Linked DNA regions of Homo sapiens: region 1 is linked to region 2. The links are contacts of gene promoters, found by promoter capture Hi-C in human tissues and cell types (Jung and others, 2019). All regions are on one chromosome and are shown on one strand. The core of a region is centred on a gene start or on the middle of the fragment in contact, and the rest is flanking DNA. Distances in the headings are between cores, read along the strand shown.

What was found. The method cuts DNA at HindIII sites, captures the fragments that hold promoters and counts their contacts. A contact is called where the count stands out against the background at its distance.
Region 1: a fragment that was not itself captured here is called in contact with the fragment with the promoter of ATRIP in region 2 in 4 of the 25 tissues and cell types used here (IMR-90 fibroblasts, lymphoblastoid cells, mesenchymal stem cells and 1 more).

Annotation. Positions count from the first base shown.
Region 1 is chr3:48,522,329-48,525,241 of GRCh38, reverse strand. It overlaps PFKFB4 (6-phosphofructo-2-kinase/fructose-2,6-biphosphatase 4), which reads left to right. Exons shown (of 14, transcript NM_004567.4): 11 at 1,412-1,541; 12 at 1,643-1,705. Among named protein-coding and RNA genes, the nearest start is that of SHISA5, 20 kb to the right of the region's middle. The HindIII fragment of the contact is 4,280 bases long and covers 1-2,913 here.
Region 2 is chr3:48,445,194-48,448,090 of GRCh38, reverse strand. ATRIP (ATR interacting protein) reads right to left here and starts at 1,354. Exons shown (of 13, transcript NM_130384.3): 1 at 999-1,354. The coding sequence starts at 1,245. It overlaps ATRIP-TREX1 (ATRIP-TREX1 readthrough), which reads right to left and starts at 1,312. Exons shown (of 15, transcript NR_153405.1): 1 at 999-1,312. It also overlaps a transcript of CCDC51 not described here. RefSeq lists a silencer at 1,050-1,409. The HindIII fragment of the contact is 4,147 bases long and covers 1,156-2,897 here.

The DNA of each region.
Region 1 (2,913 bases), core at 116-2,615, 77 kb before region 2:
GGATCTGCGGAGTTAGGCTTTCCTGGGACCCCTGTAGACAGTGTGCGGTCCCCTGGCATTCCCAGGCCAGCTCCTTTCCCAGCGAGTTGTCAGCCCTTTCCGGGGCGCTCAAATGGCTGGGGAGTTGGGGAGACCATGGCAGGCCTGGGACTCGGGTCTCAGCTCACTCGAGTCCCTGTCTCGGGCCTCATCCTTCCTTTGGATGCTTCCTCTTGTCACAGGCTGAGCCCATCCTGTCCTTCCTGTGGCTCCAGGCACCACCCCCAGCCCTGGCACCAGACCCAGGGAGACCTTCCACACATGAGTTGGCTACCACAAGCCACTGCACTTGTCACCTTCTCTGACACAGTTCAGCCCAGGCCCCAGGTCAGAAACTGAGGGTCACCTTTGACTGAGGCATCTCCTTCCACTTCCAGGAGGTGGCCTGGGGCAGGGGCCAAATAAAAATACACCCCGTCAACACACATATGTACACATATATATACACATGTAGAAGCACCTCCACCCAGAAGCCAGGCTGACAGGTCTCTACACTGTACCATCCTCAGGATAGTATAGCTCTTGGGAACATTAATTATTCCCCACATTATGTTAGGCCAAGTTCAGATTTAGAACCAACCCAGATAACGGTCAGGAGAAACAAAGCAGCTGGCTGCTCAAACATGAGAATACAGTGAGGAGAATTGGTTGAGAAATTCATGTTACCAAAAGAACCGGTCTAGGATTTTCTCAGAACTACCAGGAACTGGCACAAATCAGCGTGTCATTTTTGCTTCCTAATCAAAGCTTGGGGCACGTTCAGTTCTGACTGCTGGAGGCCATTTTTGAAGGACCACTCATTGTGTGCAGAAGGATGAAACTGATGAAAATCTCTAAACCTGCCAGGTTGAGAGGCCCAGCAGGGGCCTAAACCGTACATCACGGCAGGCATAGGGGGAAGATACTGGGCAGGTAGACTGAGGATAGTTCCTGGGGACCCCAGCTGTTTCTGATGAGTCACACTCCAGAAAGTTCCAGGTCTTTGCTCTCTTCCCCTTCGCTCTTGTCAGTGCACTCTGTTTGCTGTGGGCTGGAAGCAGGCGAGGTCTTCTCCACCAGTCACATGAATTCTATAGCTGAGGATTCAGTGCAGAGCCCCATGGGTGGGCACTGAGGTGGACCCTGGGATGGAGCCTGAGGCCTAGCTCTGCGCTCTCAATCCTACCAGGACCTAGCCCTGAGGTGGGAAAGGTGGCCCCTTTCCTCAGCTGCCCACCCCCATGGCCTCAGAAGGCTAGGCTGGAGGAGGCCCAGCCACAGCTTCCCAGAATGGTGAGTAGCTGCAGGAGTGGAAGGTGGCCCAGTGTCCAGGATGTGTCTGTCCCTCCCCCGGAGCCAGGCCTGAGGGACCCCTCTCTGCTTGCCCTTGCAGTCCTACGAGGACCTGGTCCAGAGACTGGAGCCTGTCATCATGGAGCTGGAGAGGCAAGAGAATGTGCTGGTCATCTGCCACCAGGCTGTGATGCGCTGCCTGCTGGCCTACTTCCTCGACAAGGCAGCAGGTGTGGGCTGTGCCCCGGGGGAGGTGGGAAGGTTGTGTGAGAAGGTAGGCACTGTCACCAGGCATTTCTGGTGTGCTAGCCATCCCCCTCTGTGTCTACAGAACAGCTGCCCTACCTCAAGTGTCCGCTGCACACAGTCCTGAAGCTGACTCCTGTGGCATATGGTAAGGAAGCTTCCTGCACATTGACCATGGGTAGCCATGACCTTGGATCTCTGCACAGTTCCATGATTTTCTCCGAATTCCTTGAAAATTGTGTTAGGAGCCCATTCCTCCACCTACTACCCCACCACCTTTCCCAATTTGCTTTTTTTCTTTGAGACGGAGTCTCGCTTTGTCACCCAGGCTGGAGTGCAATGGCGTGATCTAGGCTCACTACAACCTCCACCTCCCGGGTTCAGATGATTCTCTTGCCTCTGCCTCCCGAGTAGCTAGGATTACAGGCGCCTGCCACCATGCCCAGCTAATTTTTGTATTTTTAGTAGAGACAGAGTGTCACCATGTTGTCAGGCTGGTCTCGAACTCCTGACCTTAGGTGATCTACCTGCCTCGGCCTCCCAAAGTGCTGGGATTACAGGCGTGAGCTACCATCATGAGCTACCATCTGCGGCCCTAATTTGCTTTTAAAAAGTTTGTTCTGGGGCTGGGTGCGGTGGCTCATGCCTGTAATCCCAGCACTTTGGGAGGCCGAGGTGGGTGGATCACGAGGTCAAGAGATAGAGACCCTCCTGGCTAACATGGTGAAACCCCATCTCTACTAAAAATACAAAAAAATTAGCTGGGCGTAGTGGCGGGCACCTGTAGTCCCAGCTACTTGGGAGGCTGAGGCAGGAGAATGGCATGAACCCGGGAGGCGGAACTTGCAGTGAGCCGAGATCGCACCACTGCACTCCAGCCTGGGCGACAGAGCGAGACCCTGTCTCAAAAAAAAAAAAAAAGTTTGTTGTGAAAAAGTTTATGTGGCCACAGAAGACCTCCCCAGTGACTTTGCTTAACCATTGCCTACCTGCATGAGGGGCTTTTCTACTGATTTTTCTGAACCCCCACAAGGCCCCTTGGTCCTCAGGGCCTGGACTTTATTCTGGGTGCAGGGCAGTGTGAGTCCCCACCCTGCCTCTTGCTATACCAGCAGAGACTTCAGGCAACTTCTTCATCTCTCAGGTCTTAGCTCTTCACCTTTAACACAGGTGCTCTTGGGGGAATGGCTGTGAAGCCCAGTGGCAGCTGATGTCACTCCAGTGTGTGACAATGGCCTCATCCCCCATTGCACTGTGCACCTGGCACACGGTTGACTGGGCCTTATATGGTAGAGTTGGAATGTGGGTGGTTTGGGGGCCCTGAAGACTTTGAGAGTCAGTAACCTCAACTTAGGC
Region 2 (2,897 bases), core at 105-2,604:
GAAGCCTCACTTGTAGGGAGTCAAGACTGGAAATGGGAAACCAATTTAGCAGACCATTGTTCAAGAGAGGACTCATGGTAACACAGATCAGGCAGCTGGTAGAAGCAATGTGAATAGGATAGACTCCAGAGAAGGATTAAGAAGGTAAGCTTGACATGCTTTCCAAATAAATTAGATGTAGAGTCAAGGAAAGGGGAAGAGTCGCTTTGTGCCACTGGATGGAGAGTCGTGCTAGTTACTTCCTTGTGGAACATCTGGTCATCATTCTCTGAATGTCTGCTTTGCCGGCACCATGCTAGAAGTGCTGGAGGAGGACTGGGTTTCCAGGAAATGATCGTGTTGAGTTTAAGGTGCCTTGAGACACCCAAGTACAGATGCAAGGTGCACTCAAAACATTTCTCTTTCTGGGAGTCCTCAAGACTTCACTCACTCCTCAACTAGAATGTAAGCTCCATGAAGGACAGTTTTTGTATTTTGTTCATTGTAAGGTCAGCTGCAGTTCCTCACGTTTGGGCACCTAGCACAGTTTACTGGTTGTATAAAAGAATAAATTTATTTCATCTCTTGCCTGTGTCTGGCTCCTCCCATGCTCACACTGCCCAAGGGAGACAGTGGGCTTCATAAGATCTAAAGCCGCTCAAACTTGTCACAAGAATGGGTCCCCATGCATGGGTAGTGATGGTTCTGATGGTGGTGGTAGGTGTGTTCCAAGGATCTCTGCTTAGAACCAAGAACCAAGTGGCCTAAACTTTAGAAAATAACGTAAAATGTCAACTTAGCCTTCTGTGTTTCAAATCGGCTGTTTGACCTGGCTAATGCATTTCCCCCTAAAATCAAAGGACCTTCTGGAAGACAACCGCTGCTTAAATCAGGGTGTTCCCATATTTTAAAAAGGCGAAAAGGCAGTGCTGGCCGCGAGGTTCCGAAGCCACAGCCATCAAGGGGATCTGGCGCGGTTGACAACTCCCTCCGAGCAAAAGGCCGCGAGGAGCACTCACTGGACACGTCCCGAGCCGCGGCCGGACATTGGCTCAGGGCCTGTGACGCGAGGGTGTCAAGCTCCTCCAGGTCGTCGGCAGTGAAGTCCCCATGCGCGCCGAACGGGTCGTCAGGGTCCGGGGCAGCGGCTGCGGAGAAGCCCCGGGCCCGCTTGCTCGGGGGGTGCCCGGTGCCCGGCGGCGGGCCGGGGCGAGGCGCCGGGGGCTCGCTCCGCCTCTTGCTGCCTGGCGCGGAGGTCCCCGCCATGCTTTCCGCTCACCCCAAGTATCCGACAGCGCCGAGCTAGACTTGCCTGCCGCCAGGCCGGAGAACTGGACCAACCGTCCGCGCGCCGCCGCTTGCCTCCGCCGCGAGTGCCCCGCCCCTGGCCCAGGGGCCAATCAGCTGGCAGGCGGAGGGCGCGGAGGAATGACGAACGTCCGAGCGCGCCGCCACACCCGGCCCCGCCCGGTGTTTAGAGGTCCACGGGCGGGATTCGGCAGGTTTGCTGCAAGGACTCAGTGCGGCGCGACCCGTTACCGGAGAGGCGGGCCGGAGGCGCACCAGCTCCGCCGCGCTGGTGGCTTTGCGCTCCCTCCCTGGCATTCCGTGGAGGAGGGCCGCGCAGGAGCAGCCTGCCCTAGCATTCACGCGTGTTGCGTTTGAGTCGAGCCAGGCATCATTCAGGGATGTGGTCTCCGTGACCTCGCTTTCCTTCTGCCGCCAGACCCACCTCCCACAAACCCCTAGGCTTTCTTGAGGAGAGTGGAATTTGTTGGGTGAGGAGTATGAATAGAGCTGTCGTGTGCAGACATCTTCGGGTTTAGTGAATGTTTCACATGTGTACATTTGAGGTAGGCCCAGGGAGGAGGAAAGTCCAAGGAGGAATGATGTTTGGAGCTGTTCTTGTGTGGGAGGGGGTGGGAGCTGCTCAGGCTGTTAACATCCATTCCTCTGAGTGCTGGACTGTTTTTTTTTCCTAAGCTCTGGTTGTATAGAATAGGGCTCAGGAGGTCAAGGAAGTCCCCCTGTAAATGGCACCTGCGCTGTCCTACAAGTTGAGTCAAGTTAGCAGGATAGAGGGGTAGGAGGCTGGCACATAAGACTAACACGAGAATTCTACATTGAAAGGGAGGCCACACAAAGGCCAGGTAAGAGTTACCGGTGGCGAACAGAGGTAAAGCTTCACAAAGGAGCAGCAATTTGAGGTGGGCTTGCGTGCCTGACAGATTTTATTGGGCAGCTGTGGTGTGCAGAAGTTAGCCGCAATAGAGAATTTGGCAATGGAGAGTAACAGGAGCAAGACTCTTTCAGCCTTACCTGCTCAGTGCCAAACTTCACCTGTGAGTGTCCTAGGAATATTTGTGAAAGCATTAAATGAAAAGAGTAAATGAAAAAGAGAGTGCTATCAGGGCCTATAATGTCTAAGGAGTTTAAAATTTTTTGGAGCAACTGGTAGTCTCCGTCAGATAGCTTCCCAAGTGTTGCATGCTTAATTGCTGCAGGACTCTGGTCCTGGAAAGAGACAGGACTGTTCATTTGTTAAAGAGGGATAGGTTCCACCAAGTAACTTGCTTTCAGGAACAGTGTGAATCACTGGTGCTCAGGTTTGTTTTAGCAGCATACGGCTGGGTGCCAGCTAGCAAGGCCCCACAGGGAATGCCTGAAGCCTACTGAAGGGTGCTACTGGCTGTGCAACTTTCTGGAGAGGACCAACACAGGCTTCCCCCTGCCCCCTCTCCCGCGTTAATATCTAGTACATTAATCATGAAAGTTTTCAATATTCTAAAACCTAGTTTTGATTTAGCAGTCTCATAATGGTTCCAGAGCGCTCTTCGACAATATTCTCAGAGAAAGCTGAGCATTATTAACATAATTGTATTAAGGGCCTGGGAGGGAAATCCAAATACTTGTGCTTC